Linked DNA regions of Homo sapiens: regions 2 and 3 are each linked to region 1. The links are contacts of gene promoters, found by promoter capture Hi-C in blood cells and fetal thymus (Javierre and others, 2016). All regions are on one chromosome and are shown on one strand. The core of a region is centred on a gene start or on the middle of the fragment in contact, and the rest is flanking DNA. Distances in the headings are between cores, read along the strand shown.

The links. The method cuts DNA at HindIII sites, captures the fragments that hold promoters and counts their contacts. A CHiCAGO score of 5 or more calls a contact.
Region 2: the fragment with the promoter of FAM174A here is called in contact with the fragment with the promoter of ELL2 in region 1 in 1 of 17 cell types (total B cells); the score reaches 5.5 in total B cells.
Region 3: a contact is called between the fragment with the promoter of ST8SIA4 here and the fragment with the promoter of ELL2 in region 1, in 6 of 17 cell types (total CD4 T cells, total CD8 T cells, activated CD4 T cells and 3 more). The highest score is 8.0, in total CD4 T cells.

Annotation. Positions count from the first base shown.
Region 1 is chr5:95,960,484-95,963,934 of GRCh38, forward strand. ELL2 (elongation factor for RNA polymerase II 2) reads right to left here and starts at 1,368. Exons shown (of 12, transcript NM_012081.6): 1 at 1,092-1,368. The coding sequence starts at 1,238. It overlaps LOC101929710 (a long non-coding RNA gene), which reads left to right and starts at 1,518. Exons shown (of 5, transcript NR_130776.1): 1 at 1,518-1,553. It also overlaps a transcript of CAST not described here. RefSeq lists silencers at 782-1,191, 1,262-1,501, 1,457-1,924 and an enhancer at 1,220-1,977. The HindIII fragment of the contact is 3,633 bases long and covers 1-2,614 here.
Region 2 is chr5:100,533,477-100,537,116 of GRCh38, forward strand. FAM174A (family with sequence similarity 174 member A) reads left to right here and starts at 1,898. Exons shown (of 3, transcript NM_198507.3): 1 at 1,898-2,488. The coding sequence starts at 2,055. FAM174A-DT (FAM174A divergent transcript) reads right to left here and starts at 1,767. Exons shown (of 5, transcript NR_172939.1): 1 at 1,685-1,767; 2 at 604-676. RefSeq lists an enhancer at 1,857-2,156. The HindIII fragment of the contact is 3,135 bases long and covers 1,521-3,640 here.
Region 3 is chr5:100,901,129-100,904,556 of GRCh38, forward strand. ST8SIA4 (ST8 alpha-N-acetyl-neuraminide alpha-2,8-sialyltransferase 4) reads right to left here and starts at 2,154. Exons shown (of 5, transcript NM_005668.6): 1 at 1,715-2,154. The coding sequence starts at 1,827. It overlaps LOC107986437 (a long non-coding RNA gene), which reads left to right and starts at 2,280. Exons shown (of 2, transcript XR_001742825.3): 1 at 2,280-3,428. RefSeq lists enhancers at 1-104, 1,242-1,811, 2,297-2,536, 3,317-3,428. The HindIII fragment of the contact is 2,860 bases long and covers 1,701-3,428 here.

The DNA.
Region 1 (3,451 bases), core at 118-2,617:
TATCTGAGCCTCTCTCTGTACTGGAGGGGTGTGTGTGTATATGTGTGTGTGTGTGTCCATGGGCTTCTCTCGAAAACGAGGGGTGAGAGGCCCGAGTCTCTGCCCGGGATGCATTGTATCCTCCCCACACCTTCTGGCTCTGGCTCGTTCCCCGTTTACACTTCCCAGAGTCAGCCCAAGACGCCGGGAGCTTTTTCGGGTACGTTGAGCGTCCGTGAACCTCTCTCTCCAGAACCCGATGTCTTGCTCCCGGGGAGCGCTAAGTGTGCGTGAGTCCTCAGGTCTCTCCCCAGGGCACTGTGTTGGTTTGTGTCCGTCCTGGACGCGGCGCGTCTCCAGTAACGCGATGCGCCGGTGTCCCGGAGTCCCTGGGAATGCAGGTGTGTCCCCTCCCCCCCCGTACGCGAAGCGCCAGTGTCCCCGCCGTTCCAGTGTGCGCCGCCCCCTTACACGGACTGCCTAAGTCCCTATCTCTATGAGTACACCGTGTGCCCCTCACCATGCGCCCGAGTCCCCATCCCTTCGAGCACACAGTGTGTCCCCTGATACGTGGAGCGCCTGTGTCCCCAAGTCCCTGGGAATACAAGGTCCCACCCCCACACGCGGAGCGCCTGTGTCCTGTCTCTGAGGATCCACCGTGCCTATGTAACTGGAAAACGCGGGCAGCTGGTGCCCGCGAGTCGTCCCTGGTTCCTTGCCCATACGCTGCTCGCTACCCTCCTTCCCCGCCGAGGGTAGCGTGGTCATCTCACTTCTCTTATCGGGGCCTCTCTCCCTCCTTGGGACCCAACAAGCCAGGAAATCCTCGGGGGCCGTCGGAAAGTCCCGCAGCGGCAGCGCAGCCGACCCAGGGCTGCGGCTGCCTCGGCCCCGCCGCCAGGGGCCGCCCGACTGCCCGCTTCCCCAACGCCCAGGCTAGCCCGGGACCGCGGCGTCAGCCACCCTGCCCGGCCCTGCCCTGCCTGGCCGCTGCGGGCGCTGACGGTAGCAGCTGCCAGCCACGGCTCCGCCGGCCCCGCACCCGGGCGCGGCCAGGCCGTGAGGGGTGCGCTCTGCCTCTCTGAGCCCAGCCTGCCGGCCGGCCCGCTCACCTTGTGGCTCTGGTAAGTCTCGAGCGCCCGGATCGCCGTCTCGGTGAGCTTCACATGCAGTACGGTGATGTTGTCCTGCCCCAGCCGTCCGCACGACAGCCCATAGCGCTGCTCCTCCCGCAGGCCCCCTGTCCCCCCCGCCGCCATCTTAAACTCCCCGGGGTGCCGCCGCCGCCGCCGCTCCGGCTCTAGCCTCCACTGCGGCCGCGGCTGCTTGGGCTTCTGCAGCCGCCGCCACTGCTAGGGCCATCCCGCTGCTGACGTACTGTCATATACTGCGCGGAGCCAGACCTCGGACTGCCACCGCCGCCACCCGCCCCACCCTCCGGCCCCGCGCCCCGCCCCGGGCTCGTCTCATTGGTCTTGTTCCCTTCAGAACCGCCCTCATCGGCCGCCCTCCACTCTCACGGGGGCGGGCCCAAAGTCACTAGAGTTTTGCTCCTGGGACGGGACGTCCGAGAGGTAAGAGGCTGACGTCTAGGTGACGCGCCAACTTAATCATGTCTGACGTCACGTCTGGTCGTCTTGGCTAGCCGGCCGAGATTGGCCAGGCTGGCTTGGGGACTCCCCTGCTAATTGGAAGTCCAGGTTGCCTGGTCTGGTTACCTGGAGTTGGAGCCCCGCCCCTGTGGGGGATAGTAGTGAAAAGTCAGAATTGGGGAATCTCGCCCTACGCGGGTGGTCCTTGGAGAGGAGGATCTCCACCTCCACTATGTAAGGGGATGGCCGTGACCAAATAAGGACTTTGTTCCCCGACGGCTGCGGAAGCTGTGGAACTTGGTGCGTGCGTGTGGGGGAGGACGCAGCAGGAGGACTCGCTAGAGAGCTGCTCCTCAAAACTCCTAGTACTGTAGTTGAGCAAACGGCATTGGGAGGAAACTGCTCACTCTAAACTTGAAGTTATCGGGTGCCACACGCAGAGCTTATAAAAACAAAAACAAAAACAAAAACCCTTGAAATTAGTGAGTCGACTCTTAGATGTAGGAGTTGTGTTAGATCTTGTGGAGCATCTTAAGGACAAAATCACGCGGGAGGTTAAATGCCTTTCGTATGGTGGGCATGGTATAATAGAGAATTGAGCTTCGAGGTCTTTCCTACGCCATGCCCTGTTGTGATTCTCTGGGATCACAACTGGTGGGGATGATATCTCCTTAAAAAGGACTCTAGAAGAAGAGTAAAACTGGCATTGATCTAAATTAAAAGAAACCTCGACAATTCTCATTCTCTAATTCAGTTTGAGTATTGTCCTTTTTATTTGATAGGGCTGTGTGAAAACCTAGCTAGGGTTTAAAGGTAAGAGGCTGTCGAGGTTAAGCGAAGGAGATGGGGGCGTGAGGGGCGTGCAAAGGCCTGGCATACTTTCCATTCCATCCACAGGATGCTTCCTGTGTAGGCGTGGCTAAAAGAGGGAGCCTAATCTGGAGTCCCTTTCAGATTGTGTGTGGATAGACTGACAGATGGGTTCCTGTCAGAGGATGGATTAATTGGTTGATCAGAAACACCAGATAAAACAAACCATTGAAAGCTTTCAAACTGTTGAAAGGCAGTTTAAAAAAGTTCTTTTAATAAAAAAACTGAGACGCTTGTTTTTACCCTCAGCTTATAAAACCATGTTCTGTTCTACTGGGATTCCCCGGGAAAGTTTATAGATATTTAATCAGTATTTTTCATTATTTTAAATGGATTAGGGCCATGATTCCATGTCCTCCCCTCCCAATAAATGCCTTCCCCACCGTACGGGTACACTCCTTTTTGATTCAGACCTTCAAACATAGTAGGTGTATAATGTGAATTACAGAATGAATTGGATTAAGTGGAAACACCTGTATTAAGTGTTACTCCATCACAGGAAAACAGTTTGTAAATTGACTTAATTTCAATCCACTAAGATTGGCTAGCTGTTAAGACGTGATTAACGCTTGCTAATTTCATTTACTTTAGTGATACAGTGTTATCTTAAATTCATGTAGTAGAGATATTAAGGTAATCATCAAATTGGATTAAAAAGTTTACTCTTAGAAGGGAAATAGAGGCTTTACTACCTAGTTTTCTCCGCTTTCCAAAAGTAGAAACCTTATTCAAATAGTTCATCTCTAAGCGGACTATAATCTAAAAATAATTCTGTACTTGAACTTTTCTTTTCTCTCTCTCTTTTTTTTTTTTTTTTTTTGATAGTAAAGGACTGAGCACATAGCTAAAGCCTTAATTATTTGGGAGGTGAGGGGGAAGGGAGGTTTGACCGGAACAAGTAAAACCTGTATCCCACTGCTTTTCCGGTGAATGTGGGTAAATCCCCACCCACATGATATCCTAACTTGGCCTACTCTTACTCAGAATTTCTGATGACATCCAAGCGGGTG
Region 2 (3,640 bases), core at 648-3,147, 4.6 Mb after region 1:
AATTAGTTGTTTATGAATTTTTCTCTTAATTTTAATATACTTGTTCATTTACTTGTTATCAATTGGCTTGCAAACAAGTTGTACCAAGCACAGGATATAAAAAAAAAATACATAAATAAGGGGAAAAAATCTCAGAATGAGAAATTTGTATCAGGTTACTGCCACATTATTATATTCTCCTAATTAATACCATGATTTGATTCTAGCTTCTTAATCAACTATTGCTAGAATAATGTGGCATAATCAATAACCATAGAAATATCAGTGGCATACAGCAAATAAGCATTTATTTTTCACTTCTTTGGTCAAGCTGGGGTTGACTAACTTAAGCTAACCTTGGCTGCATTTGGTGCCAGGCTATAGGTTTAGTCATAGTTTACGCCAGATATCCCACAGTCTACTAGGATCAGAGGACTAGCTGGGTCATATTCTTTTCAAGGTTAGGGCCAGAACTTTCTGTGCAGAGAGGGCAGGCAAGTGAAAGGGGGAAAGGAATAATGAGAGAGGTAGGTGTGTGTATGCATGTGTGTGTGTTTCTGGCTCTCTCTCTGTATATATCTACCTGTATCTGTCTCTCTTTTAGCAATGAAAACAATAACTTACTCAAAAGACCCACGTATACCCTTGACAGGCATCTCATTGGTGAGAGGTACATCATGCGGCCACTTCTAGTTATCTGCACAAATTGAAGTTCCATATTACTGAAGTCAAACAGGCAAGGAAGACATTATTGAAGACTACTGCTGTTGGGAAAGGGGATAAAACTCTTCTAATCTCAACTCCTCTAAAAGAAAAAAAGGAGTGGAGAGTTATTAAGAGCTATTTTGGGAAGATCACCGGCCACCTGAGTTTGCTGATTGACTTTACCCAAAGGAAAAGTAAATTTTCTCCTCCATGACAGGAGGTGGTTTTACAACTTGAAGCGAGAAGCCTACAACAGTTAGGTTCCTTTCCTCTCACACAAAATAAGAGATGGCCCACTACCTTCCTTGCTGATTATATTTCAAAGGCATGATGGCTTTCCATACCCTTGAGATAGTTTTCAATTATATAACTGGCCAGAAGCTTTAAAAAATATTTACATCTGAAAAGGGAAGAGAAATAACTTACAATGGTAAAGTTTTCTAAAGTAATTTTTTTTAATATACTTTAAGTTCTAGGGTATATGTGCACAACGTGCAGGTTTGTTACATATGTATACATGTGCCATGTTGCTGTGCTGCACCCATTAACTCGTCATTTACATTAGGTATATCCCCTAATGCTATCCCTCCCCCCTACCCCACGACAGGCCCCGGTGTGTGATGTTCCCCATCCCGTGTCCAAGTGTTCTCATTGTTCAATTCCCACCTATGAGTGAGAACATGCAGTGTTTGGTTTTCTGTCCTTCTAATAGTTTGCTCAGAATGATGGTTTCCAGCTTCATCCATGTGCCTACAAAGGACATGAACTCATTACAAGCAAATGCTCTTTAGAAAGGGAGGTCAGGGACCCATAGGCAGGAAAAAAAGCCTGCTTAAAGCTTGTAATGAAGCTAAGGAAAACTAAGCCCTTCTGGCTTACAGATTAAATGTGTTATTGCAGTTTGACACCAATGAATTCAGATTATGAGTTTCCAATCTCTCAGGGTTCCTGCATGAGAGAGTTGCTGTACATTTTACACAATCTCTTTTTGTCTACTTACTTTCTTAATACGCATCCTTGACCGCTCCTCACTAACAGTGAAAAGAACAATGCTTCCAAAACGGTCACGTCCTCGCTTTTTACACAAGTGCGCGTGCGCACTGGGCGCTAGGCCTCTGACGTCACCAAGTGCATCCGCCCCTACAAGTTAGCAACCGAAGGCGTCCTTAGCAGCAGTGGCCGCTGAGATGTACGAACTTCCGGTTCTCCGGGCAGCTGCCACTGCTGTAGCTTCTGCCACCTGCCACGACCGGGCCTCTCCCTGGCGTTTGGTCACCTCTGCTTCATTCTCCACCGCGCCTATGGTCCCTCTTGGAGCCAGCGTGGCGGGCCTGGCGGCTCCCGGGTGGTGAGAGAGCGGTCCGGGAACGATGAAGGCCTCGCAGTGCTGCTGCTGTCTCAGCCACCTCTTGGCTTCCGTCCTCCTCCTGCTGTTGCTGCCTGAACTAAGCGGGCCCCTGGCAGTCCTGCTGCAGGCAGCCGAGGCCGCGCCAGGTCTTGGGCCTCCTGACCCTAGACCACGGACATTACCGCCGCTGCCACCGGGCCCTACCCCTGCCCAGCAGCCGGGCCGTGGTCTGGCTGAAGCTGCGGGGCCGCGGGGCTCCGAGGGAGGCAATGGCAGCAACCCTGTGGCCGGGCTTGAGACGGACGATCACGGAGGGAAGGCCGGGGAAGGCTCGGTGGGTGGCGGCCTTGCTGTGAGCCCCAACCCTGGCGACAAGCCCATGACCCAGCGGGCCCTGACCGTGTTGATGGTGGTGAGCGGCGCGGTGCTGGTGTACTTCGTGGTCAGGACGGTCAGGTGAGGCAAAGCCTCGGTGGGGCACCCCCGTGGGCCTGAGATACGCAGGCCGGTGATCTCCAGCAAGGCTGACTTCTGTGACCCTTTCCCCCTTCCCCAGCATCAGGGACTCCTGCTTAAGAATATGATATTGACTTTCTTAAAGGCCTGTTACCTTTGGAGCAATTTAAACCTATAACTAATTGCTGCCTTTTGTTTATAAATGAGTGCCCTACCTCCAAATCTCTTCATCTGACCTACAACCCACGTCAGCCTCAAAGGGCACCCTTTCTCTGAAGTGAGGATAATCTTTATTCCCTAGAATTTTGACTACTCTGTCTTGTAATACTTCTACCTTTCTAGTCTAAATTTTTGTATACCTAACTGGTCAAAATTTTGCCAATCAGAATGCAAACTCTTTAAAGACAGGATATCTATTTAGTAGGTTTGTGAGTCTTACAAATTATTTGTACAATGCTGCCACTTAATAGGAAATCAATATATATTTGAGTGGATTAATAGTAATATAGAGGTGCCTTATGGATATTTTATTTTTATAAAATTCAGGAGAAGAAAAGTTCTTCCTTACTATCAGTGTTTCCTAGTATTGCCCTTTAATCTGCCACCTAAGTGGCAGAGAATCACCTTCCTGAAGAGTTGACATACAGAGCCAAGACCTCACCATTAGGAGAAGCCAGCAAAGAGATAAGGTGAGGGAAAGCTGTCTAGCAGTTTATTTCATTATAAAATAAGTGTAGAGGGTAGGTTTGCAGCTTATGTTTGTTTATTGTTTTCAAAATTCACGTTTTTCCCATAAATACCCTCTGTATTGTAATTTAACATATTTCTTTAAACTGATTATTTAAAGCAAAAGTTTCCTTTTAAACAAGTCGTTATTATCATGAATGGAAAACCAACATCACTTGGCTAGTTAAAAAATAGTGTAAGCCAGTGGTTCTTGACATGTGGGCCAGGGAACCACACAGGTGGGAGTTTCACTTAGACCTCTTCAGGGCATCTACAGTATTAAAACTATTTTCAAAATAATACATTCTGTTACAGGCTTATAGGGTACAAGTAGTTCATTGATATTGTTTCAGATTCCACATTGCAACTAATCTTTAAGAAACTGCTTGTCAAGTTTTGGTGTAGTAGTATCATAAAGGAATAACC
Region 3 (3,428 bases), core at 904-3,403, 4.9 Mb after region 1:
GAGTGTCCCGGCTCCGCTTCCCCGCAGGGACTCGAGGTGCGCTCCTTTTCCTGGCCACGGTTTAGGGAGGCTCGGAGATGGACACCTCGGCAGTATCTGGCGACCCTCTTCTCACTCGCTCCGCCCACTCCTGCTCTCCAGGGTCCCAGCCAAGGGCCCGAACCCTCGGAGTCCTAGTGAGCCTTGGCCGCTTTGTCTGGGATCAGGCTTATCCTCCTAGCCCACGGCCCGGGAGGGAACAAAGAGCCTCGACCCTCAAGCTCTAGCCTCTGCCTCTCATCGGAGCCCCATGCGCCCATTCATCACCTTTCTAAAGACCCCTTTGTCTGCCTGGCAAGCACAGGTCTGCAAGGGATGCCCACGCCCCTGCCCAAAGTCCTGCTTTTCTAACAACTGAGCTAGATTGGATTTTCAAGCCACCCAGTCTTGTGTAAACGACCTCATACCGGTCTTTTTTACCCCCTCAGAATAGACCATGTATAGATTCGTTGATGCATGACGACCATTCCAGCCCATTCCTTGCTAGCTTTTTCATTCTCTTCCAGTCCGCTTTGACTGTGCTACTGTTTTCCTGGTTTTCTACAGAATAGCAAGTCCTTCTGTAAGGATCAACCTGCATCTTGCTCGCTTAAATAAATGCTTATTACCTAGGGAGCAGGAATATTAAGAAATGGAGTGCAGGAAGTTTAAGAGCATGTGTGTGTGTTAGCAGTCCCATCTCTCTCTCTCTCACACACACATACACACACACGCAAGGGCTGTTTTCTTTGTTTTAATCAATGTCAGAGAAAAATATAAACTGGGCAGGCATCTCTGCTGGTGTGTAGTTTCTGATAGAGGACGCCTCCAAACCGGAACAGGGAGGATTTCCGAAACAGGACTTTGAATAGAGTTGACAATCAGGTTCACATCCTCAGAAAAAGCCTTCCAAGCTATGTCAGCAACACAAAGTTGCACCACCTCCTGGGTAAACTTCAAAGACACAGAGGCCAGCGGGTGGAAGGAAGTGTGATATTTAGAGAACTTAGTGGGGCGGGGGAGAGTCTGAACTCATCTAGACAAACTAAAAAAAATAGCAGAAATATAGTCTGTGTGAAGCTACAGTACCCAGTTTCTTTCTAAAACTGTAACCATGACGCCCATGCGTTTTAGCCGTAGAAGAACAAATAAGGAAGTATCCTTAGTGGTACTGGAGTTTCTAATTCAAATTATAACACATTAATCTATCCAACGTCAAATAGAAAAAAAAAAAGTAGAGAAACAGAGTATACCTATTTCCTGCTTTCTAAGCTTTAACTTCAGCCCTTCGAGAAACCATCTATCTCCAGTATCTCCTTAGGTGATAGGACATTGAAAACAGGCAACCGTTTGGTGAATAAAGACATTTCTCTTGAGTTCTGCCCACAGATTAAAAGGACAAGGACACACGTTCTTTGTTGACACTTCTGCAGTGACTTCTCCTTTGGCGAGAGAGCACCCAGGGCCAACACAACTGTCACCACAACCACACAGAGCAAGTTGAACTCATACTGGGAACAGCTTAGAGAAGCACGCACATCTCAACAACAGCCTTTGTTATTTAATTCATGACACTAACCACGCGCAAGCTCAAACAAACACACATGCTATCCTAACCATCACTCTACCCTCTATATTCACATTTCATTTATGGCTTGACTTTTTGTCATATCCTGAAATGAAGCTTTGCATTTACCCGATGAGTTGCGTCTCCTGGTGCTCCTCAGTTCTTGCTATTTCTTTTGTCTTATAAAAGATCAGGAGCAGACTTATTGTGCAGATCGTCCACCTCTTCCTAATGGAGCGCATCTTGGGTGCCCGAGAAAGTCCTGGTTGCCCCAGCTCCCGCACCTTCTCTTGATATAAAGGCTCCGTTTTGGGGAGATAGTCGCGGGGGTGAAATCTGTAAAATGCGAGGAGAGCTTGGAGCCGGGATCCCGGGATCAGATCACTGGGGTCTTCTGTGGCCGAGCTCCCTCTGGTCCTCGAACGCTGCCCAGCGACCTCTCGCCCTGTTTGCGCCAGCTCTGCCAGGGTCGCTCCGCGCCGCCTCCCTGGGGCTCAGGTTTCTTTTCAGATGAGACACCTTGTGCATTGGAGGTGGCGGCAGCTTCTGCAGCTGGGTTCGGGGGCGTCACTGGCCCTTCCCTCTTGCTAGGAGATAAACGCTGCGCAAAGCCAATCACCAGGCTGAGGGGGCGGAGGCTGCTTGGAGAGTAACGTCCCCGGCTCTGCCTGCTCTGTGCCGGGAGAGGAAGCTCACAGTGCTACGCGCCTGCGAGCTCGCGCACATACACATATACATACATACACACATACATACATATGCACACACACGTACACGCAGAATCACACACACTCTCCTGGGACATCAAAGCATCAGCTCTCTGGACCTGGGAGCTCCAAGATAGTCTATCCGCATCTAGGTGAGAGGGCACCTCGCCTGGGGACAGATTACAAAAGCGTCCCGCCAGAGGAATGCTTCAGGTAGAGCTAGGGGTGGATTGCAAGAAGAGTACCTTCTTTCAATCGCTTTTGCTAAACACACACCCTCACACGCAAAAACACGCCCTCCAAGGTGGAGTGAAACGGGGTGCGGGGGTGGGGACGGCGGTGGAAGGAAGAAGACTTTTATTACTCAATCTGGAAAGTGCAAATACACACATGAACCTGTTAGCCGATGGGCCCACTCTGCATGGGTGGTGGACGACGACCCTGGCTCAGGATTCTGCAGGAAACAAGTGATGATAGAGGTGTCATTAGGAACTTTATGGATATTTATGCGCCTCCCTTTCATTGCCATTTGGAAACTCCTCACGCAGAAGTCAAGGAAACTCCAATCCCACTTAAACTTCATTGCGGAGAAACAGAGTTCTGAAAAAAAAGCAGCTACCATGGACCTCTCTTTTAAACGCAAGTACACCCACACACATTCGGATACCAAGGAAGGAAGGAAAGAAAGAAAGGAAAGAAAAGGGAGGGGAGGAAGGAAGAGCAAAGTCCTCTCTAAAAGTCTCAATTATATATATAGCCTCTGATTGTCACCTCTCCTCCGTCCCACCATTTTTCGTACTTGTATTGGGTGGCAGGGACACTTTTCAAGAGTTCTGTGTTCGATTGTTCACTCTGAGTACCTCTCCACCATCCTCCAGTCGTTGCCCTCATTGGGAGAGATGCTTGCTACTCTGCTAGTACCACGCCTTGGTTCCGGTCTTTACTGTTGGCTGGTAGGTCGGGAGGCACCTCTAGCATGAGACAGTGTCTGGAAGCCAGGATTTCCCTCATCTATATGCGCCGGTCCCCAGCTCCCTGGTCGCCAGGGTTTCTCTCCAGTTGAATTCCGTGTTCCTTCAGGTTGAACAGTAGCTTCAGCGGTTTTTCACGCTCAGAAATGATGAGGCCCAATTCCA